Regions from separate parts of the Homo sapiens genome. Here all the other regions are linked to region 3. The links are contacts of gene promoters, found by promoter capture Hi-C in human tissues and cell types (Jung and others, 2019). All regions are on one chromosome and are shown on one strand. The core of a region is centred on a gene start or on the middle of the fragment in contact, and the rest is flanking DNA. Distances in the headings are between cores, read along the strand shown. Region 1 overlaps GBA2 (glucosylceramidase beta 2). Region 2 holds the start of TPM2 (tropomyosin 2). Region 3 holds the start of CCL27 (C-C motif chemokine ligand 27).

Region 1 (4,011 bases), core at 372-2,871, 1.1 Mb after region 3:
CTGTGGTTGGGGGCTGCCTCAGCTAGTTGGGTTGGGGCAGTGAGGTAGACAGGAGGCATTTACTAGAGAAATGCCAGATCTGTTTACTCTTTCAAGGAATGTGTGCTTGTGTGTGTCTTATTCCTACGGTATATCCTAGCTCAGGGCTGGGCACACAGGAAGCATCCCGAGAGTACTTATTAGATTGAATCTTATTCACATCTAACTGCTACCTTCTACACTAGCCAAGAGGTCCTTCCTTCTTGGCCTGGGGAGGTATTGTCCTGGCCTCTCCACCTCCTGGCTCTTACTTGGTCAGCGATGACTGTCCGGTGCTGATACATTCCAGGGTTAAGCTGCCAACGACAGAACTGGCCTCTCCAGCCACGGGTAATAGTGCCTCCCCCGATGCCACCCAAGGGACAACCTAGAGAAATCAGGGTGGTTAGTGGGGTATTGGGAGAGGAAAATAAGCCCATTTCTAACTTTCTAGACTATAAAGCCTGGTTCCTCTGAAAACCTAGGGGATGGAACAGTGCAATTTGCATAAGCTGGAAGTCTCTTCCTAACTGTGGTAGACCTGGAGGCTAGGCCTTCTCTGAGCAGAGCAGAGATGGGGTGGGGCTCACCATAAATCTGTCTTAGGGGTACAGAATTGATCATGTCGATGAAAGGTGTCTTCTTTTCCACATGGGTCTTCCGGTACCACCACTGCAGGTACCTGAGGAGCAAGAGGCAATGTGAGTGGAAGGGGGCAGGTGGGCAGCTGTTCACAGGCTGAGTCACCTGCCTCTCTCTGTGACCTCCCATTAAATGTCCCAAGGACATCTGCTTTCAAACCTTTCTTCCTCTTGATTTCTATACAGTTCAAGGTCCCTTCATCTTCCCAGTCACCCCAGCTGAAGTGAAGGAGTGGCTTTGTTTCTCTCCTTTGTTCTCCTCAGAAGGGGCTTTCTGATCTCTCCTTACCTCTCTAGCACCACCACCACTGCTTTATTTCCAACATCAGGAGCTTCTGTCTGACGTGCTGAAAGGACCATTTATGGTTTCCTGGCCTACAGCCTCCGCCCCCAATCCCCTACCTCCAAAACAGGCATAGGCTGCTGGGAATAACTTTCTTATCTTTATTTTTATTATTTATTATTTTTTTTTTGAGACAGAGTTTCGTTCCTTGTTGTCCAGGCTGGAGTGCAGTGGCTCGGTCTTGGCTCACTGCAAACTCCGCCTCCCAAGTTCAAGAAATTCTTCTGCCTCAGCCTCCCAAGTAGCTGGGATTACAGGTGCCCGCCACCATGCCTGGCACATTTTTTTGTGTTTTTAGTAGAGATGGGGTTTCACCATGTTAGCCAGGCTGGTCTTGAACTCCTGACCTCAGGTGATCCGCCCGCCTCGGCCTCCCAAAGTGCTGGGATTAGAGGCGTGAGCTACCGCTTCTGGCCTTTCTTCTTTTTAAAATGATCATTTTTCTTTCTAATTATGAAAGGTGAAAGGGGGAAAAAAATAATCTCACCCATAGACAATCAGTGTTTATATTTATTTCTGGACATTTCCTCTCAAGCCTTTTTTTTTTTTTTTTTTAAATTCAACATTTAAACTGTGAAGCTTTCTGATTTTGCTCTTGGTAAAGCCTTCAAAAAATCCCAACATTTTCCTGGGCTTGGTACAGCCCTATATCCAAGAGGCAAATGATTGAGGCTGTTTTCAATAGGCAAACGATTCTGTTTTCAAGGCTCTGACATCTGTCCCAGCCTATCTTCTAATCTTATTTCCTACAAATTCTCATTCCAGATGGGTCCTCACTAAGTAGCCCCTGCCCTGCCAGACTCTTTCCCATTTCCACTCTCCTGCCTACTGCCACATTATGCCTACTGTTCAGTCACACCACTTCTAACCAAATAATTGGGTAAGTAACCCCTAAGTCCCAGTTTCCTCATCTACAAAATGGGGATACCACCTGCTCTAGCTATCTAATGAAATGGTTGAAAGATCAAATGACATAATAGATAAGAAAGCCATAAAGTACAGGTATGATTATTACTCATATATACAAACTGTTATCTCAATTCCTAATCAGACATTGCCTTGTTATTTCAATGTTCCTCATGTGAGGCTGACATACTTTTAAGTTCCTTGGGGAAAGGGACAATGACAAAGACTAGCTGAATATTACCCTCAGGTCCAAGCACAGGGTAGGACATATGGTCTGCAGTCAATGCATATTTGCCAATTTTACAGATGAATGAACATACAAATGATGGGGCACAAGAGAGATAACAGACTGGAGCAGAGGAGAAGAAATGTGATTAATGAATAGGGACAGCGGCCAGGCACGGTGGCTCACACCTGTAATCCCAGCACTTTGAGAGGCCGAGGTGGGCGGATCACGTGAGGTCAGGAGTTCAAGACCAGCCTGGCCAATGTGGTGAAACCCCGTCTCTACTAAAAATACAAAAACATTAGCCAGCTGTGGTGGCAGGCACCTGCAATCCCAGCTACTCAGGAGGCTGAGGCAGGAGAATCGCTTGAACCCAGGAGACGGAGGTTGCACTGAGCTGAGATTGCACCATTGTACTCCAGCCTGGGTGACAAGAGCAAGACTGTCTCAAAAAAAAAATAATAATAAAATAAAAAGGGACAGCACATTCTAGGGGTGGAAAGAAGAGGGAAGACAAAGGATGGGATGACAGGAAGGCAGAGAATCCTCTCTGCCAGCTTAGAGAAAACCGGACTTTGAAACTAGAGACCAGAAAGGACTGGTAGAGGGAGGGTGTGGCCGAGGATTAGGGCAACCAGGGAGAGTAACTGCAATCTATGAGGACAGACAGAACAAAGGACTATCTGGCATGGAACAAGCACTCAATAAATATTTATTGAATGAGTGGACTCTGGCTGGAAGGGAGAACAATTGAAATTGAGTTCTTACGAAGGTAAGACCCAGAGAATTCTGTCTTGCTAGAGCTCCTGGTCAGAGTGCCCACAGTTCAGCTCCATCTTAGGAGCTCTCTTACTCCCTTAATATGGTAGCTGGCCATTCCTGACCTATTTGGCCTTCTCCACAATTTCAACCTCAACTCAAGAGTTATCACTTAGAATTCTTGTCTCACCTGTGCTTTCTCCTCATAGGAACTCATCCTATTCCAAAAGCCTTGTATCAGTACCCCCCACTCTATCCTGGAATGGGGAGCCAGGGTCCAGGGGGTTGAGCACAGCTTCAGGCCTCTATGACTCAGTTCATATTTAAGGGCTAAGAGGCTAGGATGCCCATCTTTTCTTGATCTCATTGTTCCTACCACATGCAACTCAGTGTACTTCTCTATGTACACTAGATCCTATTTTGATGCAAAAACTTTTGGGGTCAAACTTGGACTGAATTGATTCCAGAAGCAGCCTGGAGGGATGATTCTTCTCTGCTACAGGCTACCCACAGGCACCAACAAAGCCAGATGTGCAGGCAGCATCAGGCCCTTCCCACTCCCCAGGGCTAGGGTTAGATAACTGATCTCCCCATCACAGCCCCACAGCACTGACTGGGGAAATGAAGGGTCTCCTACTCTAGAAACTGTAAGGGCAGGGTTTCCCAAGCTTTATGCCTCCCTCCACAGTTCTGTGTGTATTGTGTAGACTGAGTCAGGATGACCTCAGGGTGATGCTTTCTGTCCTCACATCCACCTGTTCCTGTTAATGGGTCTGGCTCCTCATCACTAGTCTTTGAACTCAGTGGGGATCTAGATGGGTTCTACATCTATGGCAGTGCCTCTCTGATAAATGACTTAATATCAAGAGCTCTCTATCCCAGAACAGAATGACAGCACCTTCTCATCACTTCAGAGGTGAGGGCAGGGAGGCTCTTCTTACCTACTCCCTGGAGCTAAAGCTTGAAGAAAGAAGCAGTAGTGTTGGGACTCTAACAGTGTGTCTAATGAGGTACAGAGAATGCCCCAGCTGCTTGTGGGAAATAAGGGGTTGAGACCCCCCCACCCCCAAATAAAACAACATTGTGTTAGTATCACAGCAGCCAGATTATCCTTTCCT
Region 2 (4,413 bases), core at 69-2,568, 1.0 Mb after region 3:
GAGGAGCCATTAGAACCTGAGCTGGGGCCCCAGGGCACAGCAGGGCTGCTGAAGCCAGAGGTCAAGGCCAGGGAATTTCTAATGGCCCCTTAGGGTTGTAACTCAAGTGGGGTCTCATCTCTGGATCCCTCTCCCTCCTCCTGCAGGCTAGTACCTCACATCCACATCCCCCCATCCCCAAACGGCTGCAGTCTCCTCTCCAATTTCAGCTGGAGGATTAATTGAGGTAGATGGTAAATTCTTATACCTTCCACCCCCACAATGACTCATTGCTTGATCACTGTACATTCTAAAAGCTGGAACCAAACAGAATTACAGGGCTAAGTCCTCTGGGGGAAGTGGTAGGTGGTTTTGATTTATCCACTGTCTTGGATTACTTGTGTAAGTTTACCCTAGCCCTGGTTACTGAGATGAAACCATTTCTCTCCTGGCGCTGGGGACATAAGGGGATAAGGTGCCCCAATCCTCTTATTCCCATACCCGGGGGGCCCCTTCCCAGAGCCCTAACTCCTCCCATTGTCCCCCAAGTCCACACTCACATCAGTGGCCTTCTTCTCGGCCTGCTCCAGTTTCTCCTGGGCCTCCTTCACGGATTCAGAATACTTTTCCACCTCATCCTCTGTCCCCTTCAGCTTCTTCTGGAGGGCCTGCTGCTCCTCCTCCAGCTGGGACAGAGGGGACTTGGTCAGCCAGGCTGGGAGGGGGCCCAGGCCCAGAATGGAGACGCGGTGTGTGTAGGGGCGCTACTAAGATTTGGAGGCTACTGGGATGGAAGCGGAATAACATAAAAGGGACAGTACAGTCAAGGGTACTGGTGGGACCCGTTGAGGGTACAGAGAAAACTTCAGGCCCCAAGGAGCAGGACCAACCGCGCTCTGCAAAGGCAGAGTGGAAACCAGGGGCCTGGGGCTTCCCCAGGCTATTGTAGGGGAGAGAAGCGGCTCTGGCGAAGGCCCTGAGGGTACTGCGAAGGCCCAGCCCCCACCCTGGGTGAGAGAGAGCCTTGGCGGGCAGGCCCGGGGCTGGGGGACCCATGGCAGCGGCCCACCCTTGCCCTAGGCGCGGGGAGAGCAGGCTGCACTGGGCCCGGCCCTAACCTGCTTGCAGCGGTCCTCAGCTTGCTTCTTGTCGGCTTCGGCCTGCTCGGCGCGGTCGATGGCGTTCTCCTTGTCCAGCTTCAGCATCTGCATCTTCTTCTTGATGGCGTCCATGGCTGCGGTGGGGGGTGGGCCGGCCGGCAGGCGGTGAGGACCGGACGGACTGGGCTGGGTGAGCGGACTGGGTGCACCGGTGGCAGGCGAGGAGGACGGAGCGGGACTGGGACGTCCCGGCCACGCGGGCGCCTAAAAGGCGGGGAGGGACCGGGCGGGGCCGGCAACCAGGACCCTCCCCCACCTCGGCCCAAACCTTGTAGGGGCAGAAGCACGGCCCGGCCGGGGGGTGCGGCCGCCCCCTTCGCCCACCCACTGGGGACCGCCTCCCTTGGGGTCCCGCCCCCATCCCCCTCTTCCCTGCCAGCCGTCGGAGGAAAAAGTGGCCGACGGTCGGCTGGAAAAACCCCGGCGATGCGAAGGGGAGGGGACCCTTGGGCTGGGGGCTCCGTGCTTCCTCTGAGTGACAGCCGGACCCAGTGGCAGCTGCGGCTGGGGCCCCTGGGGCTATTTCGGGGCGTGAGCTCACGGCAGCTGCCCGGGCGCAGGGACCGGCGTGCCCCCCCTCAGCTGCAGCAGCCGCTACCCTTAATTTAGAAGTTTCCTGCAAATCCCCCCGGATTAAATGTCTCTCGGGAGGCGGAGCTCCTCGGCAGTTTGAGTGCCTCAGTTTACCCTGAGTCCCTCTAGGTTTGCGTTATCGACGTGGTGGTAGTAGCGGAGTCTCATCGGGAGCTTGGGGAAACTGAAGCAGGAAGCGAGCCCAGAGCCCCGGTCGCGGTGGGGAGTGTGGCCGGGCTTGCTGCCCCCAGGACCGGCCTGACCTCTCATCCCCTCGCCTCCCCTCCCAGCCCCTGCCCCTGGAGCCAGGCCCTTCCTGCGAGCACCCGGCGGCTCAGGACCCAGCTCCCCGCCCCGCCCCCCACGTGCCCCGCATATTTTCCACGCGGCTGCGGCCAGGCTGGTCACCGCGCGTTCCCCGCCCCCGCTCCCACCCGGACGCGTCCCGAGCCCCTCCGCTCCCCGCCCCTGGCTCCGCCTGGCCCCACTCCCCTCCGCGCGCCTTCCCTCTTCTCCCCCGCTCCCCGCGGACGCTCCTCTCTTTCCCAGTGGGCCAACTTTATGCTGAAATTTCTTTTCTGCCCTTTTTTGGGATGTTTCCCCATTGGGAGGCGGAGCCGGGCTGCGGCGGGGAAGGCGGAGGGCGAGGGGAAGAGTCACTGAGCTGCGGGGCATAGGGGGTCCGGGGCGAGGTGCCTTCTCCCACCCAGGCCGCCAAACCAGCGCCGGAGCCGGGTCGTGGGGTCTGGGAGTCGGAGGCGCGAGGCGCGAGGGTGTTTGTTTTCGTTTTTCCCTGGGGTGGGGTGGGGGGAAAGGAAGTGGAGAGCCGCCGGGAGGAGGGGGAAGGGGAGGAGAGAACAAGCGGAGGAAGCCGGGAGGGAGCTGCTAGCCTCGCCCCCACCCTCCAGTCATAGAGGGGCGGGAGGCCTGGATTTTGCAGTGGGCTGGGGACCGTGGGAACCCGAGGCCGCTGGCCGGGGCGGTGGGGAGGTGGCGTGGAAATGCATTCAGATCTGTTTAGCTGCCTGCTAGCCACACGGAGAGCAACCCTGGCCTGACCTCGCAGTGTTCCTCTAACTCCGTGGAAGACGCCTCATCCACCAGTAGCCTATGCTAGACCACTGGGTATCCCCTGCCCTTCGCGTCTCACAACCACCTAATCCTGGAGAGGCTGCCTTCTACCAAGGAGGTTCCTCCTCGGGTCGGTCTGGGCTGGCCTCTGGCCGCGCCTTATGTTTTCTTCAGTCTGTTTTGTAGTCTTACTTCTAGTTCCTCAACTCATTCATTCATTTGACTGTCCCATGACATTGTTGTCAAATATCTTTTTAAAAGTTAATGCGAATATTATCTAAAATTCTCCAAAACCCCTCCCTAATCCCTGTCCCCCCACCTTTTTTGAGACGGGAGCTTGCTAGATTGCCCAGGCTGGTCTTGAACTTATGGGCTTAAGTGATCCTCCCGACTCAGCCTCCTGAGTAGCTGGGATTACAGGCGTGCGGGCACCCTGCCTGTTTTGAGGAGAAAAAAAAAATCCACATTTCTTAATATGGTATAGAAGGCCCGTTGTTTTGGCTGTTGCCTGCCTCTCTGGCCTCATCTCCTTCCATGCCCAACCTCACCCCCAGTATTCATACTTGTACCTCATGCTGCATTCATAATGAGCTACGTGCAGGAGCTGGAAATAGCCATACTTTTCTTAAAGCTTCCACAGTTTATGCATTCTGTTCTCTCTCCCTAAAATGCCCATCCCCTTGGCTGATTCCTGGTGGCCTTTAAGACTCAGTAAGTGTCAGCTTTTCTGGGAAGCCTTCCCTGGCCACTTCTCTTCCCACCGCCTCACCTAATAGGTGCGTGTTCTTGGTGCGGGCTCTCACCCTCATCCTAGTCCCATGGTATAACTGTTCTTATACCGGTTTGGCGCCTCCGCCGGTCTGTGAGTCCTCAACAGAAACGACTGTTCTCAATTCTGAATCCCCAAGGCCTATCACAGCACCAGGCATAGAGTTGGCACTTCATGAACATTTGCCAGATGAGTTTTTTATGTACCAGTTTCTGGGTACTTATCAAATATACTAATACGGTGTGGGTCTTTTGGTCTTAGAACCCATTACACTCTTAAAAAGTATTGAAGACCCCCAAACAGCTTTTTTGTTGAAGTGGGTTATATCTACCAATAGTTGCCATATTAAAATGAAACTTGAGAAAAATTTTAAATATGTATCAATTCGTTAAAAATAACAAAAATAAACTCATTACACATTAATCATGTTAACATAATGTTCTAAATGAAAGATAACTATATTCCCATTCCCCGAATTAATGAGAGTATGGAAATTATTTTACATTTTTACGAATCTCTTTACTCTCTGGCTTCCAAGGGGACAGCTGTATTATCAATATCTCCTTCCATATTTGATCTGTTGCTATATGTTGGTTACTGAGACATATGAAGAAAATCCTGTCTCACAACAGATATGCAGTTGGAAAGATTTATTTATTATTTTATTTATTTATTTTGAAACAGTCTTGCTCTGTTGCCCAGGCTGGAGTGCGGTGGTGCGATCTTGGCTCACTGCAACCTCCGCTTCCCAGGTTCAAGCAATTCTCCTGTCTCAGCCTCCTGAGTAGCTGGGACTACAGGCATGCACCACCATGCCTGACTAATTTTTGTATTTTCAGTAGAGACAGGGTTTCACCATGT
Region 3 (4,415 bases), core at 362-2,861:
GTTGGGTCTCCTCATTTTAATGATGTCTAGGCTGAGGGCTGGGCCTTTCATTCTTGAGTCCCTGGGCTCAGAAGTGGGTCTCTTTCCCTCCTCTCAGGGTACTGAGGAAGGACCCCAGGTGGACTTCCCTTCAGGGTATTAGTATTAGTACTAATACTCTTCCAGGGTATTAGACTCAGAGCTGGATATTCATCCTTTTTTTTCAAGGTGTCTTGGATCAGTGCTAGGTCCCCTCCTTCATTCTTAATGTGCCTGGGCCCAGAGCTAGGTCCACTCCCGTATCTTCAGTGTGTTGAAGAGGCTCCCTCAGAGCTGGGCTCCTCTACTCATCTTCAGAGTGTTAAGCTTAGAACTGAGTCACCTCCCTCATTCTCAGGGTGTCTGGGCCAAGATCCGGTCTTACTGTCTCTCCTGATTTGCCTCCTGCTTCTTCTAGGAGCTCCAAACCTGTAGAGGACCCAGGAGGGCTTCGGCAGATTCCACCTATAATTCTGTCTTGCTGGTGTGGATAGAAACCAGGCAGGACAGTAGATCCCTATGGTTGGATCTCAGCTGGAAGTTCTGTTTGGAGCCCATTTCTGTGAGACCCTGTATTTCAAATTTGCAGCTGAAAGGTGCTTGTACCTCTGATTTCACCCCAGAGTTGGAGTTCTGCTCAAGGAACGTGTGTAATGTGTACATCTGTGTCCATGTGTGACCATGTGTCTGTGAGGCAGGGAACATGTATTCTCTGCATGCATGTATGTAGGTGCCTGGGGAGTGTGTGTGGGTCCTTGGCTCTTGGCCTTTCCCCTTGCAGGGGTTGTGCAGGTGTGAATAAAGAGAATAAGGAAGTTCTTGGAGATTATACTCAGAAATTATTATCCAATGCTGCTTTATTATTTGGCTATTGGGGGCTTCAGCCCATTTTCCTTAGCATCCCAAAATTCAGCTTGGGCAGAGTCCCATGGAGCTTTCTCTCTTGGTGCTCAAACCACTGTGACAGGCTGGGGTTCTGGGGGTGGATGCAGATGCTGCGTTGAGCCAGGTGAAGCCTGGGTAGAGAAAGGTCCAAAGCTATGACCATAGCTTGGGGATGAGATTAGGGTCATCCCCAATGACCCTAATTAGGGGTTAGGAGCAAGGACCAGATGAAAACCTGAGTTGGCAACAGAATTAGCAGTTAGGGCTGGGGTTGGGATCAGCATTAGGGGTTGGGACTGAGGTCAGAGTCAGGGGTATCAGGGGTGGGAGCTCACACGAAAGCCTGGAGGTGACAGTCCCCGTCAGCCTCCTGCAGTTCCACCTGGATGACCTTCCTCAGTAGCTTGTCTGAGAGTGGCTTTCGGTAGAGCTGAGTACAGCAGGCAGTGCTGGGTGGCAGTAGGAATGCTAGGGGCAACAGGGCCATGTGTTCAGAGGGATCCTGACCAAGAACCTCTCTGCCAGACAGCTGGAGGTTAGGTTGGATTTCCTGGGTCTTTTCAACTTCATCCCATTCACCCAGACCCCCAGCTTTCTATACCCCCAAGTACTCACCTGCTGTAGGGTCTGGGCTCAGGAGCAATGACAGCAGCAGGAGGCTGCAGAAGGTTGGGGGCCCCTTCATGTTGCTCAGCCTAGACTCTTCCTTCTCTCTCTCTCCTCCTCCCCTACCTTTTATCTGGGTGCCTTTTACCTGGGGCACTAGGTGAGTCAGAGGCAGTTGGAGATGTACTGTGTAACCTGTGACACTCCTGGGCCCTAATTCTCGGCCTGTTGCCACAGACTCCTTCCTCATCTAGGATAGCCATTTCCCATGTGCTCCTAAGCTCTGGGCAGTGAAGCTGGGGGAAGGATTAGTGTGTGATGTAGGGACTGATGGAACAGTGAGTAAGGGCAGTCAAGCATCCACAGCAGCATCTAATGATAGACATTCACACTCAAATACGCATAGCCACACATTCAAAGTCACTCCTCAATCACTTGGTCAACCTCACAAAGTCATACTCATGATCAGACAACCGTAGACAAAATTATATAGCCCCGGTTATACTCAAAGTCCCTCTCCCACCCAATTGTGTTTTCACAGTCATCCAATCACAAGCAAATTCACACTAGCACACACAGATTCTGACAGGGGAGTTGTGGGTGGGGTGGGAGCAGAGGGCAGGCAAGCACCAACTTGCCTTCACCTTCTCCTCCCCACTTCCTGGCTTGGCCTGCCTGTCTTATCAGAAGAAATGGATGGGAATGGGTCCCTAGAGCAGGCCCTTCTGGCTGAGGAGGGTTCTTGGCTGAGGCCAGCCCCATTCAGAGAAGCTGGGGGAAGGCCCTTTATGGTAATATTAAGGGTGTTTTGGAGATGCTGAGGTGGGGCAGCTTTCCCCAGGATGATGAGACAGGGAGGAAAGGTGGGGTAGATAAGGAGGGAAGATAAAAGCTCTTTGGTGCTAGGTTACTGTTGTCAAAACAGGTAAAAGGCCCAGTGAATCTTACCTTCCTGTTTTTGTCTAGTCCTGTTCCAGGAATGCCAACCTCTTGCCAGCAGGGGCCTAGGGTCTCCAGATCCAGTCCCTGACTTGTTGAAGACATTGGACTCAAGCACTCAATTACATCTTTGTTTTACTCAAATTCCAGCCTCCTTCCTGGGCCTGGAGGAACATCCCCTCTCCCTACCCGGGTTCAGTCACACCCTCATGTCCAACTGCTATACCCCCTGCATCCCACCCTCCAGCTATAGCCGCTTCTCTCCTAATCCCATACCCAGCTGTCACTCCGTTCTTTACCCCCTCCCTGCAATGCAAAGCTCCTATTCATCTTTATCCAGTCCTTTCCAGGAAGCTGGGAGCTGCCTAGGGTGGGGGTATGCTGCCAAGTTCAGTGCCCCTGGCTCCTTTAAGAATTTCCCACTCCTGGTCCAGGGATCTCAATCTGCAAGTCCTGCTCTATATTTGAAACATAAACCAAGTCATAACACAGTAATCCAGCCCTTATCTTGTTGCAGTCGTCTGCTGTAGGGTCAGCCACTCTCTATGGAGTAGGCTTTCTCTTGGGATAGGGCTTAGGCCTTTCTCTTGTGTCCCAAGGCTTGTTGGGTGTAGCCACTGAGGAAATCCCAAGGAAATCTCCCAGGTTCCTCGGGCTTGTCATAGACCTTCTTCATCACTTGGCTGTGCGCTACATACTTTCTGGTCTTCCCTGGGCTTGTCGGTCCAGAAGTCTTCGGAAGGCAGAAAACAAATGCTTTTGGGTGTGCACCCATCTCTCCCCTTTAAGACCAAGTCTTCTCCCCAGCCACAATCTGCTGTAGCTTTGGCCCCAGCCAGAAACTGGGCCATCTCTTTCTTTAACTTAATCTTGTGGTGCCCTTTCTGGTGCTGGGTCCAGTCCCTAACTGAAGGCAGGCCCACATAGCAGTCCCTGATTCTCACCACTTGAGGAGTTAGTGGGTCCCAGGCTGATTGGGTGACAGAAGGGGGCGGCAAAGAGCAGTGGCCCTTGGACTCTCCTAGGGAGGGAGCAAGAACTTCTAGGTAGGCTGATGCCAAGGATCTCTAAACTTGGGATCAGACTGGAGGAGCCAAAAGTTGGGGTATGAACTGTAGGAAAGGTCGCCAACCCAAGTCGCTCCTCTGTGGCAGGCAGCTTCTAGGAATCTCCCCCTCTTACCATTTACAGCCTGCATCCTACACCTCTGCTTAAAATGTTTTAGATATACTCCCAGCAGAGAAGATTCTTCAGACAGCTGGCAAAGTCCTCGCTCCGAGGAAGGGAGTAACAGGCAGGATTATTTAGTTCTCTTCATATAGGCGACTCACAGTATGGGTTTTTGGGGGTTGGGATTGGGGGAGACAGCCATTGATAGTAACAGGAGGCCTGACACTGATGAGGGGCTTTGACGTGGAAGGGCACCCTTCCAGGGAGGGACGCCCTGTCAGTACGGAACAGAGCCCGTGTGGGGAGGGGCGCTCGGCTCGAATGGCGACAGCGGCGGCAGAGTCAGGAGGTCAGTACGGTGGGCTTCGGTTTAAATCTTTAATGCACTGGCTGGCTGGGCAGCGGCGGTGGGGCTGCGGCGGGGGAAGCCACGACCCGAGCGCTGGGGAGTAGGACCCAGGCCGCTGGACAGACAGCTCATCAGGCCTCGCAGAGGCTCCAGCTTCTGCTCCCCGGGGTGCGCCGAGCTGTGGGGCGACCCGACACTGGCATGAGGCGGGGCGGGAGCTACCGGATTCCCCCCGATGGGTCCTCAGAGACTGAGTCCCGTCCATGCCCGGGGCGGGTCCGCGGTATCGCAGCCTCCTCACCTCCGCTCCCTCCGCCACATGCGAAGCCAGGGGAAAAAGTAGAAACAGCCCCAGTAGATCCTGCAGAGAGAGGGCAGAGCCGGGCGGGGCGGGGCGGGGCGGGGAGGAGCTGACCCTACAGACTCCGCCCCGCGGTGCCTCGCCGTC

What was found. Contacts are between HindIII fragments. The study calls those that stand out against the background at their distance.
Region 1: a contact is called between a fragment that was not itself captured here and the fragment with the promoter of CCL27 in region 3, in 1 of the 25 tissues and cell types used here (dorsolateral prefrontal cortex).
Region 2: a contact is called between the fragment with the promoter of TPM2 here and the fragment with the promoter of CCL27 in region 3, in 1 of the 25 tissues and cell types used here (stomach).

The regions. Positions count from the first base shown.
Region 1 is chr9:35,744,007-35,748,017 of GRCh38, forward strand. It overlaps GBA2 (glucosylceramidase beta 2), which reads right to left. Exons shown (of 17, transcript NM_020944.3): 2 at 609-700; 3 at 291-406. Among named protein-coding and RNA genes, the nearest start is that of GBA2, 3.2 kb to the right of the region's middle. The HindIII fragment of the contact is 5,426 bases long and covers 1-4,011 here.
Region 2 is chr9:35,688,607-35,693,019 of GRCh38, forward strand. It overlaps TPM2 (tropomyosin 2), which reads right to left and starts at 1,319. Exons shown (of 9, transcript NM_003289.4): 1 at 1,098-1,319; 2 at 540-665. The coding sequence starts at 1,211. RefSeq lists a silencer at 2,657-2,736. The HindIII fragment of the contact is 5,966 bases long and covers 1-4,413 here.
Region 3 is chr9:34,661,046-34,665,460 of GRCh38, forward strand. CCL27 (C-C motif chemokine ligand 27) reads right to left here and starts at 1,612. Exons shown (of 3, transcript NM_006664.4): 1 at 1,519-1,612; 2 at 1,239-1,371; 3 at 845-1,034. The coding sequence starts at 1,588. The coding sequence ends at 899. IL11RA (interleukin 11 receptor subunit alpha) reads left to right here. Exons shown (of 13, transcript NM_001142784.3): 13 at 437-857. The coding sequence ends at 453. LOC730098 reads right to left here. Exons shown (of 3, transcript NM_001320038.2): 2 at 4,269-4,328; 3 at 3,118-4,145. The coding sequence ends at 3,989. RefSeq lists a silencer at 4,325-4,415. The HindIII fragment of the contact is 14,352 bases long and covers 1-4,415 here.